2 separate regions of the Homo sapiens genome follow, and region 1 is linked to region 2. Evidence: promoter capture Hi-C in human tissues and cell types (Jung and others, 2019). All regions are on one chromosome and are shown on one strand. Each heading gives the region's core, a stretch centred on a gene start or on the middle of the fragment in contact. The rest is flanking DNA. Distances are from core to core; before and after follow the strand shown. Region 1 overlaps NF2 (NF2, moesin-ezrin-radixin like (MERLIN) tumor suppressor). Region 2 holds the start of RASL10A (RAS like family 10 member A).

Evidence for each region. Contacts are between HindIII fragments. The study calls those that stand out against the background at their distance.
Region 1: a contact is called between a fragment that was not itself captured here and the fragment with the promoter of RASL10A in region 2, in 2 of the 25 tissues and cell types used here (spleen and thymus).

Annotation. Positions count from the first base shown.
Region 1 is chr22:29,687,754-29,691,286 of GRCh38, reverse strand. The region is part of intron 15 of NF2 (NF2, moesin-ezrin-radixin like (MERLIN) tumor suppressor); the gene reads right to left. Among named protein-coding and RNA genes, the nearest start is that of CABP7-DT, 30 kb to the left of the region's middle. RefSeq lists enhancers at 1-58, 1,342-1,842, 2,062-2,561, 2,562-3,063 and a silencer at 1,258-1,489. The HindIII fragment of the contact is 6,822 bases long and covers 1-3,533 here.
Region 2 is chr22:29,314,317-29,317,948 of GRCh38, reverse strand. It overlaps RASL10A (RAS like family 10 member A), which reads left to right and starts at 2,252. Exons shown (of 3, transcript NM_006477.5): 1 at 2,252-2,921. The coding sequence starts at 2,703. RefSeq lists enhancers at 2,256-3,060, 3,061-3,632. The HindIII fragment of the contact is 15,140 bases long and covers 1-3,632 here.

The DNA of each region.
Region 1 (3,533 bases), core at 463-2,962, 370 kb before region 2:
CCTGAATTCCAAACAAAAATGTCCATGCTCCCTTTGGCAATCCAGCAACAGCCCTCCCCTTGCCCAACCTTGCCTGCCTGGGGAGTGGAGTCCCCCCAGGAGGGCGGGGAATTCCTCGCATGCACAATGAGTATCTTGAAGGTTATCCAGGAAGAAGAGGTCTCCAAATTTCAGCAGGTAATGAAGCAGAAGCACCTCAGGGTGTACAACCAGGGTCTCGAGGACAGTGGCTGCACCAGTCTGGGACTTGCCAAGTCTGGTCAACTGCCTTTGAATCCTTCTGAAGACAAGTGAGCCAAGCTCTGGTGAACCTGACCAGTGACGTCTGTCATGCACTGTCCTTCAAAACTTTCACTGAATCTAGACAAGGTCCAACCATGGGAGTCCCGCAGCCAGGCCCAGTTCCTTGGGCAGGCTATAAACCCAAGGGCCCTGCTCAGAGTCTCCAACCCAAAGCGCTCCTGCCAGTTCCCTGAAGATGCCTACAAGAACATGAAGCCTCCGCACCAGGCATGGGCTGACCCGCTGCTCTCCTCCAGCTGTCTCTTCACATCTGATTAGAATCAGCCGTGTGAATAACACAGGAGGAATTAAGTTCTCTCTCGACTGAACCGGCTGCTCAAGTCTGTCACTAATCCAATTCCATTCTGAGGAGACGAACTTCCTTTTCTTTCTCTGGGGCAGATCTATGAGGCTTTATTGCTATCTGACTGTTCATCTTCACATCCCCCCTCTGATCCACTTGTTGGGTCCTGGCTTTTACTTCCTGCCCAACATCGAGACTCAGCCCCGGCAGGGTCCCTTTTCCCCTGCCCACTTGTCCATAAAACTGCCAGCTGTTTGTGACAGCCAGCAGGCTGTGAGACGGCAGGGGAGAACTTAGGAGAGTTCCATTCTGGCAGAGCTGGGCCTCCTTACGCTCCCCAAATTGTGTGTGGTGTGACAAAAACAGACACATCCACCCAATCTAAACAAGTTCAGATTCAGGAGACACATCTGTCTACTTAAAAAGACAGAAGAGGCTGGCTAAAAGAACCTGGTACCCAGCCGGCACTCTCTAACCCAGGCATGCAATCTGCATCTTCAACTGTTCCTCCTCACTGCTACCTGAGGATTTTGGGTGGCCCATTAGGGTACTTCTGAGAAATGGCCCCAGGGTCTGGAGAAAGCAAGCCTGGAAGGCACCTGTGACAAACATTCTCCTGCTGCCCTGCCAGCAGCAGACGGCTTCCAGCTACAAAGCCTCCGCCAGCATCGTTCCTGAGTGCCCCCTGCTGGAAAACCACAGCATGAGGCGCACGGCCAACTCTCCTTCCAGCTCTCCTCTAAAAGCCCTTTTGGGGGATCGTTTCCCAAAGTGATGGGAGGGTAACTAAATGTATTCCGGCACGGAGCCTGCAGCAGCAAGGCTGCTTGATTAAGAATGAATTACACTTTCATCAGCACAGACAGAAAATTGATTCACAAGGCTGCATTGTGATCATCTTGTTCCTAAAGCAAGGGAAGGTTGGGGGAGACACAGAGCTACTTTGGCTATCAGTGGTGAGAGAAAGGAAGCTGTACAATTAAGCTGGGGAACAAAACTAATCAGAGCACCAGGATTCCTTCAACTAGTCTCTGGGGGCCTTGCCTCAATCCACTCATCCCAGGGGAGGAGAAAAGAAGGTAGGAGGGGACCATCTCATTCATTTTAAACAATAAGACTCACAGTACTGAACCCATTTTAGATACTAACCTAATAACTCCAGGCGCTGGGTCTCTGCTTGTCCCATAAAAATGCAGTGGAATTGAAATGTGAGCCCTAAAATCATGTTACACTTCCTCTCCACTACTACATATTGAAAACGAAGGAGCGGGGGAGGGTGTAGACACAAAAGGACGTGCAGATCCTCTGGCACCGGATCCACAGGGAGAAAGCAGACTCAGAGCAGAAAGGTGACAGCTGAATCCAGCAGCAGCAAATTCCAAAAGAATCTTTGGTTTGGGGTGTGGGAAACCTTCCCCCTTCCAAATAAGCAAAGAGGAAGGGCCAGTAAAGGGGGATGGCTGTACTAAGTGGCCAGATCAAGCTTTTCTTTACTTTCTCTTTTTTTTTTTTTTTTTTTTTTTGAGACGGAGTCTCACTCCGTTGCCAGGCTGAACTGCAGTGGCGCGATCTCCGCTCACTGCAGCCTCTGCCTCCTGGGTTTAAGTGATTCTCCTGCCTCAGCCTCCTGAGTAGCTGGAACTACAGGCGCATGCCACCACGCCCAGCTAATTTTTGTATTTTTAGTAGAGACAGGGTTTCACCATGTTGGCCAGGATGGTCTCAATCTCTTGACTTCGTGATCCGCCTGCCTCGGCCTCCCAAAGTGCTGGGATTACAGGCATAAGCCACCGCGTCCGGCCCAGATCAAGCTTTTCTGCAGTCTGGCTAGGGACAGCTGCACCCAAATGCCATATGGTGATGTGCACAGTGGGAGCACTATCCACACACTTATCCTACACAGAGGTGGAACGAAAGGCCAAGTCCACCCCAATGAACAAATCCAATTTGTTATTAGCGACTTTATCTGCTCTCAAGAGAAATCTGCCACTGAATACCCAAGGGGCCCTTTTTGTGTATTAATCCCTGAGGGACCCAAAGCAGCAAAAGCTGCCTGAAAACCTGTCTACCTGCTTTGCAGGCTGCCCTGTGGCACTGGCCGGCGGGGCCCTCCGCTGCTCCTCTGTTCCTTCCCCTGACAAATGGCCTAATGGGCCTGATTCACCTCACTGGGCAGGTGGCGGCTATCTACTGAGTGGTCTGAGCAAGAGCCTTAGGAAAAAGGTCCAGATAGACTGATGTCATTTTAAAATTGCCAACATCAAAAGAGAAATCACAGCAAGGATCATGAGAACAGAACCTCGGGCTCGCAGAACGAGTTTGCATCTGGCTCTTCCCTCCCACTGTTGCAGCAACGAATCCGGTGCCGAGGAGAGCTGCACTGAAACACATCTTCAGTGCCGAGGGGCCGAACAGGGTGTTTTACTGCCTCAAATAAGGCCTGGTAATATCCTCAGGCATCTCCAAATGGTGGTAAAGTACCTAGGCAGGCAAGGCAGGTTTGTAGGCTCTTCAACACCTCCCAAAGAACAACTGCTTGACCAGGTAAAGTCTCTTAACCAAAAACAGGATTGGCTTGTTGACTTTTAGAAGAGGCCGATACAGTCTTCTATCTAGAGCTACCAGAAACAAGCAAGAAAACTAAGCTCTCAACAGTTACGAGACACCAGGAACTCAGTGTGTGAGAGTGGTAGGAGTGGCCTTCAGGGATGAGCCCAAGGTGTCCCATCCGGGAGGAGCACTAAGAGCAGCCTGCAGTTCCTAATGCCTTCCCTGGGCTTCCACAGAGCCAGGAGGCGGAGAGGAAGAGTTCAGATCGCCACTGCAATTTCTTCCCAGTGTGCTATGCCCACATCTGGTGCTGCTACTGCTCCCTGTTAATCCTTGCTCCCCACCCCACTCCCCACTCCTTTTTCTTTCCTTCCCCCTCTCACCCCTGCCTTGCTCT
Region 2 (3,632 bases), core at 1,003-3,502:
TTTGGGAGGCTGAGGCGGGTGGATCACCTGAGGTCAGCAGTTCGAGACCAGCCTGACCAATATGGTGAAACCCCGTCTCTACTAAAAAACACAAAAATTAGCCGGGCATGGTGGCATGTGCCTGTAGTCCCAGCTACTCTAGAGGCTGAGACAGGAGAATTGCTTGAACCCAGGAGGTGGAGGTTGCAGTGAGCCAAGATCGCACCACTGCACTCCAGCCTGGGTGACAGACCGAGACTCCATCTCAAAACAAACAAACAAAAGACCGTCCTGGTGTCAGCTTTTCAGACTTCTGGGTTTTGTTGTTGTGTTGCTGAGTGCCTTGTTATTTACTCCTTGCCTTGTTCCCCGAAGGAATTGAAGCAGCTCACAAAACCCAGAAGCCTGAAAAGTCAAAAACCCAGAAGTTTGGCCAGATGTGGTGGCTCACGCCTGTAATCCTCGCACTTTTGGAGGCTGAGGAGGGAGGATTGCTTAAGCCAGGAGTTCAAGACCAGCCTGGGCAACATAGTGAGATTCCACCTCTACAAAAAATAAAAATAAATCAGCTGGATGTCGTAGTACACACCTGCAGTCCCAGCTATTTGAGAGACTGAGGCAAGGAGGATCACTTGAACCCAGGAGGTTGAGGATGCAGTGAGCTAAGATCACACCACTGCACTCCAGCTTGGGTGACAGAGCAAGACCTTGTCTCAAACAACAAAACCCAGAAGTCTGAAAAGTTACAACGTGAAAGAGGACATCAAGTGAAGGGAAAAATCATGGTAGGAAAGAAAGATGAAGCCAGCAGTCCCCACTCACTGAGCTAGAAGACCTGGAACACTAGACAGAGGTGGTTCTGAGCTTCCTAGTGGCTGAGGAGAGGAGTGAAAGCGGACCCCAGCCCCCGATCTAGCATGGGAGGATGAAAGCACAGCCATTGTTCTGGAGACACTTTCTGGTTGTCATTATACAGGCTCCCTGGAGGATGTGCCTCCTCCCCCTTCAGGATTTAGCTCCTCTACTTCCCCTGGGCTGGTGTGGGCACATTGTCTGTGCTTTGACAGTCCCTAGATCCCATGTGTTCTAGAACCTTCTCTCCCAAAGCAGAACTTTTTTTTTTTTTCCTGTTTTCTGTTTTTTAAATCTATCTCAGCCTCCTGACAAGCAATAAGATTTGGAATATTTGTTGAGGGGATAAATAAATGAACTCCTTAGTCAGTGCAGAGATCTGTGCATTGCGGCCATTTCTTGAGCATTGCCGCCATTTCTTGAGCATTGCCATGTGCAGGTCAGAGACGTGGGAGCCCCCACACAGCGGGGAGGAGAGCAGAGGCGGAGGATGGGGGGGCTGGGCTAACCCAGGCTTTCCAAGCTGTGATGGGGCAGGAGCTTCTCCACTAGCTCGAGGGAGGGGGAACTTGGGCTCTGGGCGCCTGTTTTGGAGGTTGCATCCCTTTGAGGGGCGCTACGGGTTGCAACTCACGCAGGAAAGGTGACCTTAGTAGTGATGGAGGTGGAGTGGGCCAATTTCTGGATCTTTATTTAGTCACCTCCAGCCTTGCTGGGACAGGGATCTGGGGCTAAGCTGCTGTGGTCTCGGCACCCTCTGTCCCCACTTCCCCTCGAGGACGGCTGTTTGAATATTGTCTAGTGTGGGCCATTTACCCCCGTGGGCAGGAGGAAGGTAGGAGGGACTTCAAAGGAGACTTCAAGGGCCCCCCCACTGCCCTTCTAACCTTGCAGATTCCCCTCTCGGGCCTGTTTCCTCTTCTCTCAACCAGCGATGCCAGGCTGAGGCTGTAGGTTCGAGAATCACGTAGGTAATGGGCCTGGCACATAGTAGGCTCTCAAGAAAAGGTTGGAGCCTCTTGAGGAGTCTGCCTGTGATGGATGCGGAGCGCAGACCCAGCGCAGTGCGGCGATTCGCCCAAGGTCACACAGCCGCCCCCCCCAATTCGGACCCCGGGCGGCCTGACTCCGGGGGCCGGGGCTTGTCGGGAGCCAGCGTGGGGGCGAGCAGTGTTTGGAAGAGCGGCCGCGGCAGTGGGTGGGAAGGGGCTTCTATTTTGGAGCGGGTGAGAGGAGCGGGACACGCGGAGGAGGTAAGGAAGGGGTAGGCCCTCTCCGGGATCTCTGTCCCCCAGTCACCTTCCTGCGACCCTTCCTGGGAGGGGCGTCCTGGGCGGTGGGGGAAGGTGGGAGGGGCGGGCGGTTACCTCATCGCCGCCTCCGGGAGGCCCCGCTCGCTCGCGCCGGCGGCTGGGGCGGCGACTCCAGGCGCGGAAGCGAGAGAAGGATAGAGGCACAGAGGCTCCGGGAGGCAGCGCTGCCCCCCGCGCCCCGCACCGCTGCGGGACCCGCGCCGCGAGAGGGGCGGACTTCGGCGCCTCGCGCGTCCGCCGGCGCCTGGGTTGGCGCTGCGGGGCGGAGGCGGTGTCTGAGCGCCGCTCCGGCTCTGCTCTCTCTCGAGCTTCGGCACCCGCCCGAGCCGCTCGCGCGCCCGCCACCTGTCTGCCCACTCGGCTGTCTGTCTGCCCTCCCGCCGCCAGCTCCTGCCTCGGGCCTGCCCTCTCCGGTCTCGGTGCTCCGAGGGGCGACGAGAAGCGCGACGGGGCCGTGGCGCACCGGGCAGGGCGCGCGGGGCGCACGGCCTGGGGGCGCACGGTGCGGCGCCGGCCCATGAGGCTTTCCAGCGCGGGGAGCGACAGCGCCGGCCGGCCATGGGGGGTAGCCTGCGGGTGGCCGTTCTAGGCGCCCCGGGCGTGGGCAAGACGGCCATCATCCGCCAGTTCCTGTTCGGTGACTACCCCGAGCGCCACCGGCCCACGGACGGGCCGCGCCTCTACCGACCCGCGGTGCTGCTCGACGGCGCCGTCTACGACTTGAGCATCCGCGACGGCGACGTCGCTGGCCCCGGCTCGAGCCCCGGGGGTCCGGAGGTAGCGGCTCGAGGAGCGGGCAGGGGCGTGTGACAGTGTGAGGGGTGTGCGTGCTCGGTGCACACGTGCGTGTCCGCGTGGAGGCCTCGGGCGCCTGGCTGTGCTCCGGGATGGAGGGATGTGTGTGCGTCCTGGGATACTTGCGTTTCAGCCCTTCCCGCCGACCTGGAGACGCCCAAGCCCAGGCTGGAGGCCGGGCGATTTTGCCCAGGGGCGTTCCCTTGCTCCTGTGAGCGCCTCCACCTTTGCCTGCCTCGGCTGGGGGTGTGGAGCAGCTCTTGGTGGTGCATAACGGTGCCTTCCCGAGAGTGTGGCGTTTTGTGTTTGGGGCCTTGAGCAGAGCTACAATGGGAGAGACTGGGGTCAGGAGCAGGGGTGTACTTTCTACGGGGGCTGGTGGAGGGGTTCATTCTCTGCCCTATCATTTTTGTCCCCTGGAGCGAAGACTCGTTTAGTAATTTGTGCAAAGTAAAGGACAGACCTCCGACCCTAGAGCAGTGAAGAGGAAAGAGCAGGCAGGATTAAGCAGGGCTTCCTGGAGGGAGTGGCATTTGAGCTGAACCTGGAAGACCGAGTGAAGTTCTGAGTAAAGGAAGTGGCAAAAACATACCAGGTGGAAAGACCAGCAGGTGCTTACGCTACGGTCATAAACGGTTACAGCTGACAATCTGGGGGCGTGGTGGACCACGGGACTCGGGCCAAGGGCTTTGG